Regions from separate parts of the Homo sapiens genome. Here region 1 is linked to region 2. Evidence: promoter capture Hi-C in 16 types of primary human blood cells and fetal thymus (Javierre and others, 2016). All regions are on one chromosome and are shown on one strand. Each heading gives the region's core, a stretch centred on a gene start or on the middle of the fragment in contact. The rest is flanking DNA. Distances are from core to core; before and after follow the strand shown. Region 1 overlaps NDUFV2 (NADH:ubiquinone oxidoreductase core subunit V2). Region 2 holds the start of MPPE1 (metallophosphoesterase 1).

Evidence for each region. Contacts are between HindIII fragments. The CHiCAGO score rates a contact against its expected background, and 5 or more counts as called.
Region 1: a contact is called between a fragment that was not itself captured here and the fragment with the promoter of MPPE1 in region 2, in 1 of 17 cell types (neutrophils). The highest score is 6.2, in neutrophils.

What each region holds. Positions count from the first base shown.
Region 1 is chr18:9,128,153-9,135,175 of GRCh38, reverse strand. NDUFV2 (NADH:ubiquinone oxidoreductase core subunit V2) reads right to left here. Exons shown (of 8, transcript NM_021074.5): 8 at 835-990. The coding sequence ends at 897. It overlaps NDUFV2-AS1 (NDUFV2 antisense RNA 1), which reads left to right. Exons shown (of 3, transcript NR_110772.1): 2 at 1,666-1,785. Among named protein-coding and RNA genes, the nearest start is that of NDUFV2-AS1, 5.1 kb to the left of the region's middle. The HindIII fragment of the contact is 1,805 bases long and covers 4,657-6,461 here.
Region 2 is chr18:11,906,910-11,913,838 of GRCh38, reverse strand. It overlaps MPPE1 (metallophosphoesterase 1), which reads left to right and starts at 5,522. Exons shown (of 11, transcript NM_023075.6): 1 at 5,522-5,638. LOC101927511 (a long non-coding RNA gene) reads left to right here. Exons shown (of 4, transcript XR_007066296.1): 4 at 2,977-3,290. RefSeq lists a silencer at 4,730-5,129. The HindIII fragment of the contact is 5,797 bases long and covers 4,132-6,929 here.

The DNA of each region.
Region 1 (7,023 bases), core at 4,310-6,809, 2.8 Mb after region 2:
AGCATAATTACTAGTGAATAGTCTGTTTCAAGTACAGGTGACTTTGAGAAATCGAGGATTAGATTAATATAAATTATTCATGCATTAAAGCTGGCTAATGCAAAACTAATGTACTACAGCTAATTTCTTAAATACACAAAAGGGTTTATCCTTTTTTCTAAGTTGTAATATCCATACCACTGCAGAGTACATAATCATACTTCCAATCCCTTCACCCAATTATTTTTTGTATACTTGCAGTGTCAGAATAGCTAAGGATAATGTCAAGTGTTTTGGACCTTTCTTTTTTAAAAATGGTAATGCTTAAGCCGGGCGTGGTGGCTCACGCCTGTAATGCTTGCAGTGAGCCGAGATCCCACCACTGCACTCCAGCTTGGGAGACAGCGAGACTCCGTCTCAAAAAAAAAAAAAAAAAAAAAAAGGCTTCTAGAGACAACTACCATATCCTCCTTAAACCTACAGTGTGCTTGAGGTCTTACCAGTTGGAAATACAGTAACAATTATGTGTTTTAAATAATGTTTAAAGGGAGCACTGACAAAGTTTATAGAAAGATCATGTTAACTTAAAACTTGGCTGTGGCTAAAGATGGGAAAGCAAAACATTTGTAATTTAACCAAATTTTTACTTCACAGTAACCTGATCTTGATAAAAGCGATCTGGAAATTGAAAATGGGTGACACTAGAGTAACTGTTAACTAGATTATATAATGATGTCTTCACAGCCATAGATAGAAGACTTTAAAATGGTCCTCTGTCATTATGACATAATACTTAGAGCTGCAAGTTGCTACGGTTAGCATGAGGATGTACACAGAGCAGAATAAACAAATAAGTTTACGTAGATTGGAAGTCCATATTTTATTTCTCTAGTGACATATTTACAGTTCAATATAAATTAAAGGCCTGCTTGTACACCAAATCCAGGTCCCTTGGGTGGTTCAGTCAAAGAGGTAAGACCTCCAGCTGGCTCACAAGAGAAGCGTCCACTCCTGAAATGAAAAGTAATATTAAACTATTAATGATTAACATTTGTAAATTTTTACTTAAATTGTAATGGTTACCTCACAAGAGCCCAGTTAAGTAACTATTTTTACCCTAAGAACTAGCATAGATTATTTAATTCAAACATTTCAACTGATGCAAGATTTTCTCTTCCTAAATTTAAATATGGAAAAACATCAGACTTCACCATAAACATAAAAAATACAAAAGTAGCCCTAATAATAGTTCCTATTTACTGAGCAGTATGCATACACTAGCTCATTGAATCCTTACGATGCCACAAGACAAGTGATACTGGCTTTATTTTACAGTTAGAGAAACCAAATTTGGGAGATTCAGCATCTACCCAAGAATCAAAGCAAAGAACTACGGCAAAAATACCCAACCCCAGAGAACATTTTTAAAAACCATGTTTTAATAAACTAGAGCACTGTATTTCTTTTTAGAGTTGAATTTTATTTAGATCAAGATCCACAGTCACAGTGAATAGAGGGAATACACACACTTATACATTGTATTTGGAAATAGAAACTGGATTCCTTGAGGAAATATGATTTGGGACAATGTCCCTTAGAAGCAGCGAAGTCAAAATCAGTTTGTATTTATGTATTATAAAGACTATATTAGTAGTAGTAATTTTCTGAAAAAAGTTTCCAAACCAGGATGGCCATAGCAGCCACAAAAGGAAGCAAACAAGAACAAGTCCTGATGGAGCAATTTATGAAGACAGGCAGCATAGAGGGAGAAGAACCTGTCTGTCAACCCCACACACGCTTTCCCAGGTAATTGCTCACCTCTGCCCTGTCTGACCTCTGTTTCTAGAGCCCAGCTCAGACTTACTGTATGTCACCCCTCCACCACTATTCCCTGGCTTTGCTAATTTACCTGTTCCTGCCACAGATTTACCTAAAGAAAGAACTTGTTCAGTTTATATCTTTTCAACCCCCTCTGGCTTTGCCCTTCACATTGTGTCATCAATCCTTTAAGTCTGTTCTTTAGAGCCCTAGGGAATCATTTTTTATTGGAGCCAGGAAAGTGACACCACATAATATAAGATCTTTCAAGATGTCACAGCATATAATACAAGTTACTAAGTAATGAACAATTATCTACAAAGTCAGAACTTAGTTAATATCTTTGGATTATAGGTCTTGTTCACTACAAAAACAGATAAAAAAGCAGTCATTGTATACTGTAAGAGCCTGAAACTTGTAGAGTAAGCAGCAAAATGATACTTAACTTTAAAAAAAAGACAACAGTATTATATTTTGCAATTTTTAAATTTATTTATTATTTTTGAGACAGGGTCCCACTTTGTCACCCAGGCTGGGATGCAGTGATGCAATAATGGCTCACTGCAGTCTTAACCTCCCAGGCTCAGGTGCTTCTGTCACCTCAGCCTCCCACGTAGCTGGGACTACAGGTGTGCGTCACCATGCCTGGCTAATTTTTGTATTTTTCGTAGAGACAAGACCTCACCATGTTGCCCTGGCTGGTCTTGAATTTGTGGGCTCAAACAATCTGTCCGCCTCAACCTCCCAAAGTGCTGGGATTACAGGTGAGCCACTGTGCCCGGCCTGTAATTTTTTATGTTGCCTATTGATAGGCACCACTGCTGCTCTTTAAATGTCAATGAAATTATTTTGGAGAAACTTTCTTCACCTTTACTAGGTTTCTTCTTACGGTTTAAGCTCAGCTACCTCTTCTTTTCTGCCTAAAACTTTTCTCTTGATCAAATATCAGAATGGAATATGATTTAAAAGTTTCATTTTAGACGTCTCCTGAAAGCTGAGCATTTGTTATCTTAAAGCCTCTTACCAGTTTGGATAGATATGGATCTTCCAAAATTAATGAGCTCCTTAATATCGACACTGTTTATCAACATAAAGGATCAATTTAGGAAGATTATAAAAACTGAAGTTTCCGGAACAATAAATGGGAGAATTAATCGTAAGTACTTCCTGAGTTCTTCACAGGATTATAGAATTTTATATATGGAAGTAATTTTAAAAATAATCTGGTCTAGAGTTTCCTAAAGTTTGTTCCATAAAATTACAATCCCATGGCATTGTATAGAAAAACGGGAGTCCCAGTGATCCAGTATGTCTGGCTGTAAACCTCCCTTCCTCGCCATTCACACAGTGTACCTTAAAATACTACAAAGGCTACAAAAATCCTCCAATAAAGCCTATAATTTTGTTTAATCTACTAAAAATGTAACCCCCCCTTTCATCTGTAAACATGCCTCAGAACACTCAAGAGGCAGTGAGCTAGCCCTATCCACTCACCTGACAGCCACAATTTACACTAGTGTTTTTCACTTACTAAACAAAAAATGATTTTCCTGATATCTCATGCTTAAAATGCCATCTAATAATTACATCTTCACTAAAATTTAAAAAGTATGGTTCGTCAGTCATTCCAACACTATACGTATGTGTACCATTTTAACTTATTTGCTTTCTAGAAAACTTGGCCTTTCTGTAAACTTTCATGGCTTAAAGTACTTTACATAGACAAATTACTTTATAAAAGTTTAGTGCTTTTTACTATTGCTGAGATATATCCAGCACTGTCCCTACTTTTAGTATAAAAAACCAAAAGTGATGTTATTGTCTAGAGTCATCTACCAACCGCATTGGAACTGTAGCCTAGCTCTAAATATGAAGAATTAAAGTTGGATTTAAAATGAGTTATAAACTAATCCATACTAAAAAATTTCTACCTATTAGTAACCTGAAAACAAGTTTAGAATTTTTCAGTACTTTAAATTCACTGAAAATAAGAACAATCTCAGCACAAAAATATTTAGTAATGTCAAGATTAAGAGACTACAGCTGACCCTGAACAACACAGGTTTGAACTGCATGGGTTCACTTGTACATGGATTTTCTTCAGCCTCTGCCACCTCTGAGACAGCAAGGCCAACCCCTCCTCTTCCTCAGCCTATACAACATGAAAATGATAAGACTTGTACTATGATCCACTTAATGAAGAGTAAATATATTTTCATTATGATTTTAATAACATTTTCTTTTCTCTAGATTATGGTAAGAATACAGTCAGTATATAATACAGACAACATGCAAAATATGTGCTGACTATGTTATTTGTTAAGGCCTTCAGACAACTGCAGGCTATGAGTAAAGTTTTGGAGGAGTCAAAAGTTACACACAGATCTTCAACTGCATGAGCAATCAATGTCCCTAACGCCCATGGTGTTCAAGAGTCAACTGTATTATCTTACCACTGCTTTAATATTTTCAGTGGTCATTCACCAACGATAATACAAAAGCAGTTTTGAACCACATATAGACATCAGTCTTTTACTAATTTTGGCCAGGGTAAGACCTGGCAGTGGTACTCAGGAATCAGTTACTATTGAACCAGTTTAATTCCTCTCGGTTTTTCATTACAGAGACGCACAATTAGTACCTCTTTCAAAGAGCAGAGATATTTATTATTAAAATACCAATAAAAAAGAATTAGACAGCTTTGGTTAATTTAGAATAACTATAACTATATTATGGTTATTGCTATCCCAGTCTCTGTCATTATCCTATATATCCAAGATATTGGGTAAGTAAAGTGAAAAGTTCTTGTTTTCATATGCTGACAAGACATTCTAGTATTGCTATGTCCAAATACAAGCTTTATATAATACAGCATTGGTGGATGCTTGCAATTATTGAAACCTAAGTAGACTTTTGTCTGCTTTTTAAATAAGAGGTAGTAAGTAAAAAAAGAGATTCGGACACGAATAATTTTGAAGTATTTGGCTCAAATCCAGAACACTGTCAAGAAAATCTCAGCGAAAAACTATTCATGATTACTGATAAGTAACATCCCTATTATTATCAGATGTTGTTGAAAATGCTTAACTGAGTACTTAGTTCCTGCTTATTGTTAAAATACAATGTTATAGTACCTCATATTACAAATAACAGATTTTAATTTCACCCCGATAATGTCATCCAGATTTATAACTTTAAATACTACCCTTAGTAACTGATGAATCCCCAATTTGTGTTTCCAGCCCTAACCTATTCCCTATATTCCAGGTTCGTATCTACCTATCAGCATCATACCATGGATGTCTTAACAGGCATCTCAAACTTACTATGTCTAAAACAAAATTTGACTTTTCTTCCCCAAACTTGCCCTACCACAAATCTTCTCTATTTTCGGTAAAGGAACCTCAGAGATGCTCAAGCCAAAAAGCTGAAAATCACTCATAAATCCTTAGTCCCACATATCTACTAAATTCTAATCTCCACATAGCAACTATGGCAGTATTTTAAGATTGCTCATTCCATTCCCTACTGAAAACATTCCAACAGTTTTTATTATATTTAAGATTCAGCCCAGATTACTTATCTGGGCCCTTATCTCCTCTGACCCCTTCCACTGCTTTCTTGCTTGAGCACCTCACTGCAGCCATACTGTTACCTTACTTTTCTTCCAGGACCCTGATACATCCTCTTTCCCCTCCCTGGAACATTGTTCCTTCAGCTCTTTACATGGTTCCCTCTAGCTCTTCATTCAGGTCATGGCTCAAATGTTACCACCTCTAAGCGGCCTCTCCTCACTAAATTTACTCCCTATCTATCCCCTAACACCTGCTACATTTTATTGTGTAGCCTTTTTATCACTCACATATTACACTAGTCATCTGTCTCCATCACTAGAAGATATATGAGAACTTTATCTTGTTCATAATTGTATTCATAACCTAAAATAATGCCTGACACACAGCAGGCACTCAAAAAAATTTGTGAAAAAAATTACTGTTGAGTATTTAATGTAATGTGACATAACAAAGTAGACAAAGCAGGTATCAATTTGTGTGGCAGGAGAGTAATACTAGATTAATATGAACCATAGATCCCACAGTTCACAAGAAGCAAAGCAGAAGATTCTAAACGCCAAAGTGGCCGGGCGTGGTGGCTCAAGCCTGTAATCCCAGCACTTTGGGAGGCCAAGGCAGGCAGATCACTTGAGGTCAGGAGTTCGAGACCACCCTGGCCAACATGGTAAAACCCCGTCTCTACTAAAAATACAAAAATTAGCTGGGCATGGTGGTGGCACGTTCTTATAGTCCCAGCTGCTCGGGAGACTGAGGCAGGAGAATCGCTTGAGCCTGGGAGGCAGAAGTTGCAGTGAGTCGAGATCACACCACTGCACTATAGCCTAAGTGACAGAGCAAGACTCCATCTCGGGTGAGGGGAGGAGTGGGGGGGAGGAAGCCCAACACCAAAGTTATGACTATAGAATTCAAAACATCTAATCAGAAGAGAGGGGCCATCTAAAGAACCCAAGTGGATTTCACAAGGAAATCTGCACTTGAGATATTCTTTAGAGTACCCAAAAGGTGAAAGAAGTTATGGGCTGAAGTACAAACCTAAGAATAGCATGAATTTATTTTAAAATACCTGAATCCTAAAAAGCAGATGAAGCTTGTGGAAAATATTATGAAATTTGTACTTTTTGGGGGGACAGTGTCTATTTAAAGCAAGAATAAGTAAGGGATAGGAGCACTAGCTAAGAAAGATACTGTAATGATAGATGACTAAAGGTTTTACTTCAGTTGCCTCCATAAAGGAGAATGATTTTTCACCAGGGAAATGATTTACCTCCTAAAAAAAGGGGTATACCCAAGAAAGTGAGGAATTAGGAAGAAAATGCCAACACTCTTTAAGCAAATTCAATTCTATAGGCTCAGGTTGTTAAGAACAGTATACGTTTCTTAGAAAAGAAAGTAATGGTCAACAGGGGCCAGCTAGCATTTACTAAACTTAAGTTATCCTGAACTGACCTCATTTTCTCATTAAGTAGGGTATTATTAGTAGTTTTAGAGAGCAAACTCTAGAACCACTCATACCCTCTTAGTAATTCTACTTCAGGGAATTGTTATTTATAATAAAGCTTAAGAAAAATATTTTAAAACGGGAGTAAGAGCACATCACAGCTGTTTTAAAACATTAGAATACCGTATGGACATCAAAAACTCCAAATGTGCT
Region 2 (6,929 bases), core at 4,273-6,772:
GAGTTGGGGGCTCTTCCCAGTTGTTTGGCCAGTTGGCCCAGGAAGGGGCAGTCCTGGAGCTGACGGGTGGGTGAGGAGCCAGGCCCCACCTGTTTTTTGTTTTCTTACGACAGAGTCTTCCTCTGTTGCTCAGGCTGGAGTGCAGTGGCGCTATCTCGGCTCACTGTAACCTCCACCTCCTGGGTTCAAGCGATTCTCCTGCCTCAGCTTCCAGGAGAGCTGAGACTACAGGTGTGTGTCATTACACTGGGCTAATTTTTTATTACTTTTTTTAAGCAGTGATGGTGTTTTGCCATGTTGGGTTTTGAGCTCCTGACCTTAGGTGACCCATCTACCTCGGCCTCCCAAAGTATTGGGAGTTTCCAAGGCTCCCTTAGTGTAAGCCAGGATTTTTTAAATACAAGGCGGCAAAGATACCACAATGTTACCACAACACAACAATGTATATCACAACCATGTATACCACTATGTATACCACAATGTTATTCACTGTAGCTGCTCCCACAGAAAAGTAGTTTACAAGACAGTGAAGTACAATATGAAACTGAAGATGTTTAGAGAGGAAACAGTGATTTAAAGAGTGCTCTGTAGAATTAAAACCAGTTAGCCCGGCACATTGGGGAACACCTCTGGTCCCAGTTACTTAGGAGGCTAAGATGGGAGGATCACTTAAACCTCGGAGTTTGAGGCCACCCCGGGAACACAATGAAACCTTGTCTCAAGAAACAAAACCAAATACCCCAAGTAGGCCGGGTGTGGTGGCTCAAGCCTGTAATCCTAGCACTTTACGAGGCTGAGGCAGACAGATCACTTGAGGTCAGGAGTTTGTGAACAGCCTTGCCAACATGGGTAAACCCTGTCTCTAAAAAAAAAAAAAAAAAAAAAAGCCAGGTATGGTGACACACACTTGTAATCCCAGCTACCCCGGATGCTGAGGCATGAGAATCCCTTAAACCCAGGAGGTGGAGGTTGCAGTGAGCTGAGATCATGCCACTGCATTCCAGCCTGGGAGACAGAACCAGATTTGGTCTCAAAAAAAAAAAAATTGGTTAATGGCATTAAAAGTCAACTAATAAAATTAGTTAAAACTATGGACTTTAATAAATGTTATCTGTTTTAGCAATTTTTTTTTTTGAGACGGAATTTCACTCTTGTTGCCCAGGCTGGAGTGCAATGGCGCGATATCAGCTCACTGCAACCTCTGCCTCCAGAGTTCAAGTGATTCTCCTGCCTCTTCCTCTGGCTCCGGAGCAGCTAGGATTACAGGCGCCCACCACTACGCCTGGCTAATTTTTTTGTATTCTTTGTAGAGATGGGGTTTCACCATGTTGGCCAGGCTGGCCTCAAACTCCTGACCTCCAGTGATCTGCCCGCCTTGGCCTCCCAAAGTGCTAGGATTACAGGTGTGCACCACCGCGCCCGGACTGTTTTAGCAAATTTGACAAAATGTGGGTAATTTATCCATATAATAGAAAATGCCTAATATTCATTAATTGAAAATTAGAAATTACATTAAAATATTCGGTACTGTTTTTTAAACTATTCTACTTTTACATATTTGGGAAGATTATTTTCTTTAACGATTCTGTTTTATATATTTTATTAATTGTGTTATCTGTTTCCTGAAATTAATATATGCTAGAAGGAAAATTACCTTTATAAATGTCAGCATCTTAAAAGTCATGTCAATATGCAGATTTTGATAACAATCGGTATAGATAAACTAATTCTAAAGTTAGGAATGGGGCCAGGCGCGGTGGCTCAGACCTGTAATCCCAGCACTTTGGGAGGCCGAGGTGGGCGGATCACTTGAGGTTAGGAGTTCGAGACCAGCCTGGCCAACATGGCAAAACCCTGTCTCTATTAAAAATGCAAAAATTAGCTGGGTGCGGTGGCGGGTGCCTGTAATCCCGGCCACTCAGGAAGCTGAGGCAGGAGCATGGCTTGAACCCGGGAAGCAGAGGTTGCAGTGAGCCAAGATGAGCCACTGCACTCTAGTCTGGGTGACAAAGTAAGACTCTGTCTCAAAAATAAATAAATAAATAAAGTCAGGAATAGGTCATGCCATGCTTTATTATATCCGTGATGCTTTATTATATCTGTGACTTTGAAAATTAACATTATTTTACTAACCATACTCAACAATGCTTTTTAAAAAGGGATTTATGACATATAATTCTTTTGGAAATTAAAATGCATGGTATAATTCTATGGTTGGTCAGATTACACTTCAGGTGTAAATGAATTACCTTAAAAATGTATTTCTTAGGTTTATGTTTTATGGACTTAATAAATATTTTATTACAATTTTTTTTTTTTTTAGACAGAATCTCACTCCGTCACCCAGGCTGGAGTGCAGTGGCACGATCTCGGCTCACTGCAACCTCCACCTCCTGGGTTCAAGTGATTCTCCTGCCTCAGCCTCCCGAGTAGCCGGGAATACAGACGCATGCCACCGCTCCTGGCTAATTTCTGTATTTTTAGTAGAGCCGTGGTTTCACCATATTGGCCAGGCTGATCTCGAACTCCTGACATTGTGATCTGCCCTCCTTGGCCTCCCAAAGTGCTGGGATTACAGGCGTAAGCCACCGCACCCAGCAGAAAAAAATCTTAAACTTACAAAAACATAGAGAGAAATATAGCAAATGCTTGTATTAGTTTTCTATGGCTGCTGTAACAAATTACTACCACTTTGGTGACCTAAAACAACCCAAATTTACTACCGTACAAGTCCTGTAGGTCAGGAGCCCACACGGGGCTCACTGGGCTAAAACTCAGGTGATGGCAGGACACCTGAGCATCTGCAGGATCATTCATTCCTTGCCTTTTCCACCTTGAGAGGCCACCTGTGGCATTCCTGGGCTTGTGGCCCCTTCCTCCATCTCCGGAGTCAGCACCAGCGGCCACATCCTTGTCAGGTTGAATCTCTCTGAACTTCCTTCCAGTGTTACGTCTCTTTCCAATTCTCATTTGCAGGTAAAGGTTCTCGGAAGGACCCAATGAGACTGGGCTCACTGGGATAATCCAGGATCATCTCCCATCTCAAGGTTCTTCATCGCATACTTGCAAAGCCCCTTTTGCCATGTCAGGTAACTTGTTCACAGGTTTGAAGATTAGAATGTGGGCATGTTTGGGGGGCATAATTAGGCCTAGCACAATGCCCATGTACCCATCTCCTTGCTTAAACATTAAACACTTTGCCAATATTGTTTCTCCTATCTCTCACTTTGTTCTCTAAAAAACTCCAGGAATTTGTTATTAAATTTTATTAAAGCAAATCCCAGAAATAATATAATTTGCCTGTAAATATGTTAATATGTTTCTCTGAGGCCTTTAAAAATCATAGCCACTATGGTATTATCGTAATAAAATTACCTGAAGTTATTTAATGTCACCTAACATTCAGTCCATGTTTAAGTTTCCCAATTTTTTTTTTTTTTTTTGAGATGGAGTCTCACTCTGTCGCCCAGGCTGGAGTGCAGTGGCGTGATCTGGGCTCACTGCAAGCTCTGCCTCCCGGGTTCACACCATTCTCCTGCCTCAACCTCCCGAGTAGCTGGGACTACAGGCACCTGCCACTACACCCGGCTAATTTTTTTTTTTTTTTTTTTTTTTTTAGTAGAGACGGGGTTTCACCGTGTTAGCCAGGATGGTCTTGATCTCCTGACCTCCTGATCTGCCCGCCTCGGCCTCCCAAAGTGCTGGCATTACAGGCAAGAACCACCGCGCCTGGCCGCCAATGTTTTTAAAAATGCCATTTATTTATGTAAAAGTTTGTTTGTCTTAATCATGACCCAAACAAGGTCCACAAATTGCATTTGGCTAATGTGTCTCTCAAGGTCCCCCCACCCTCTTTTTTTTAAAGACATGGGGGGTCTAGCTGTGTTGCCCAGCCTGGAGTGCAGTGGCTATTCACAGCTGTGATCATAGCTCACTACAGCCTTGAACTCTGGCCTTAAGCAATCCTCCCACTTCAGCCTCTGAACATTTATTTTTGAAAAAAGAAATTGGGTCATTTGGTTTGTAGAATTTCCCACATTCTGGATTTGGCAGATTACTTCCTGGTGGTGTAATCTAATGGGTTCATTTGGCCCCTGTATTTCCTTTAGCCTGTGATTAGTGTTATAAGCTTAACTGGTTCTAGTTTCCCTTTCTTTGTTAGTCAGAGAGAATACTTTAGAGGTGAGGCTGCAAACAATCCACGGTGCCATATTAGTGTGTTTATGGAATCAGGCTGTCCCAGTTTCGATTATGTCAAAGTTGTTCACCTGATCATATCTGAAGATATTACAATATTCTTAATAATAATAACCATTTACCGCATACTTATTGTATACCAGGCATTTTGCTGGCTGTGTCCTATATAATTCCTCAAACCACATCTCCGTGTATTAACCACACTCATAGATTTGTGAAAATGTACCAGAATTGACTGGTTGGAAGGCTCTATGTGGATTATTACTCTGAGCATGTTTACTTCTTGAAATATGAAATAATGGCTCCTGCTTTTAATATACAGGCTTATTTTGAGGATTTTTTGAACGGATGTGAGAGCACTTAGAAAACTGGAACGCGCCGCGCTACACCATTAAAATTAGTAACATCAGTGAGAAAAAAGCAAGTGCATAATAAATATTATAGTTATCCTGATTGTCTCCTTTATTCATCACACACTTCCTAAGCACATCTCTGGAGGGCACTTTCCAAGGCTCCGGGGGAGGAGAGGAAAGAGGCGCAGCCAGGCCTGGTGGGTCCCGGAGGGGCAGCGCGGCGCGGGAGGGGAACGGGGAGGCACGGCCTGGCTGCCACCGCGCGCGGAACCCGGGAGCGGCTCCGGGGCTGTCAGCTGCCCGCCTGGCTCCTCCAAGGCCTGGAGCTCGGACGCGGGCTCTGGGGGCTTCTGGGGCGCGGAAGCGGGCTCGCGGGGAGCAGTGGCCGCCCCCGGCCGCCGCGGTGGCTGTGCTCAGAAGCCGGCCCTGGCGTCAGGAGGCCGGGCGCGCGGCGCGGGGCGCGAGTTCCCCTGCCCGCCTGTGCGCCCCGCAACGGGCCTTTCCTGGGCCCTAACGACAGCTCGCCCGTGCTTCGCCCTCGCAGCTCTCCTGTGTCCCCAAAATGCCTTTCCCGCGTCCCCCGCCCTTCAGCGGTGACTGCCCAGGGGACTCTGTAACGCGACACTCAGACTGCCGAGCCTGCCAGGCACTTCGCGGAGGGCGCTAGGGGCCGGGACGCGGCCGCCGAGCGTAGGTTCCGGCCTTTACTCCGAGTTGCGCACGGAGCCCCAGCTGCGGTTGTCCGCTCTGGGGATCACAGGCCGCGGAGACCCGGGAGCCACCCGCCGGGCCCCTTCAGACGACCCGCTTCCGCAAACCGGCCGTGGGACTCCGGCGCCGGGCGGACGAAGCGGCTCCGGGAAGACTCGGTCTTCCCCGCCCGCCTGAGGTCGCCGGGGCGGGGCTTCAGTGACAGGCCCGCGCGCTACCGCGGAAACAGGAAGTTGGCTGGGTGCGCGCCGGCTCCGGCTGCAGTTCCCGGGTCCCTCGGCCACCGAAGCCACCCTGCCCTGGTGAAAGGGCTCCCGCACCGCCCGGTGCTCCCCATCTGCCTGGCGTTGTGCGCAGAGCTGGAAAGCATGGCTGTTGTATGTATTCTTGCGCCCGTGTGACAACATTTAAACTTCTAAAAACGGAACCTCCTTCCGTGTTAGGATTGCAAGTTAACCTAGGAAAAACAGCATTCTGCAAATTATTTGCTGGAAAATCTCGGTGACTTAAGGCCCATGTATTACTTTGCAGGGGTCTCTCACTCTAGTTTGCTGGTGTAGATTTTTTAAAAAATCCATCTTATCAAAAAATACCGTTTAAGGTGGAAAATTTCAAATGCAAGTCGCAGTTGATGAGATTGCAATTAATATATTTAAGATAGTGAATTAGAGAAAAACTACAGGTCAGTGCATATTAAGTATTTTTTTCATATTTTGGGGGGATTAGATTTTTAACGATAACTTTGAAGTTAAAAATTAAAAGATAGGCTGGGTGCCGTTGCTTAGGCCTGTAATTCCAGCACTCTGGGACGCTGAAGTGGGAGGATGGCTTGATCCCAGAGATGCGAGACCAGCCTGGGCAACATAGCAAGTCCCCCGCCCCCACCATAACAACAAAAGTACCAAAAAAAAAAAAAAAAAAAGCCAGGTGTAGTGGCACGCACCTGAAGTCCCTGCTACTCGAGAAGTTGTGGGGGAAAGGATCGCTTCAGCGCAGGAGTTTGGGGCTGCAGCGAGCTGTGACGCAGCCTGCGGTTGACAAAAAGTCAAAACTCTATAAAATATTTGAAGGGATTAATTCTGAGCCAAATATGAGTGACCATGGCTGGTGACACAGCCATTTGGAGACCCTGAGAACGCGTACGCAAGGTGGTCGGGGCCCAGTGTGGTTTTATGCATTTTAGGGGAGCCATGAGTCATCAGTCAAATACATGTAAGATTAAGATGTACATTGGTTCGGTCCATAAAGGTATGACAGCTGAGGAGGTGGGTGGGTCGGGGGTTTCCGGGTTATAGGTAGATTGAAAATTTTCTGATTGGCATTTGGTTGAAAGATTTATTATCAATGGAAAGGAATGTTTGGGTTACAATAAGAGGCTGTGGAGACTGAAGTTTTATCATGCAGATGAAGCCTCCAGGTAAGTTAAGTGTCCAGCATGTTAAATGCTGGTCTGCTTTTCCTGAATTCTAAAAGGGAGGAGGATGAAATGTGTCAAGTTCCACCCCCACTTCCCATCATGGCCTAAACAAGTTTTGCTTAAAACAACCTAAAACAAGGTTAACTCTGGAATGCCCTTGGTGGGGTCCATGCAGATGGTTGAGGGGTCTTAGGATTTCATTTTTGATTTACAATGGGCGGTGGAGTGAGACCCTATCTCTAAAAATAAAT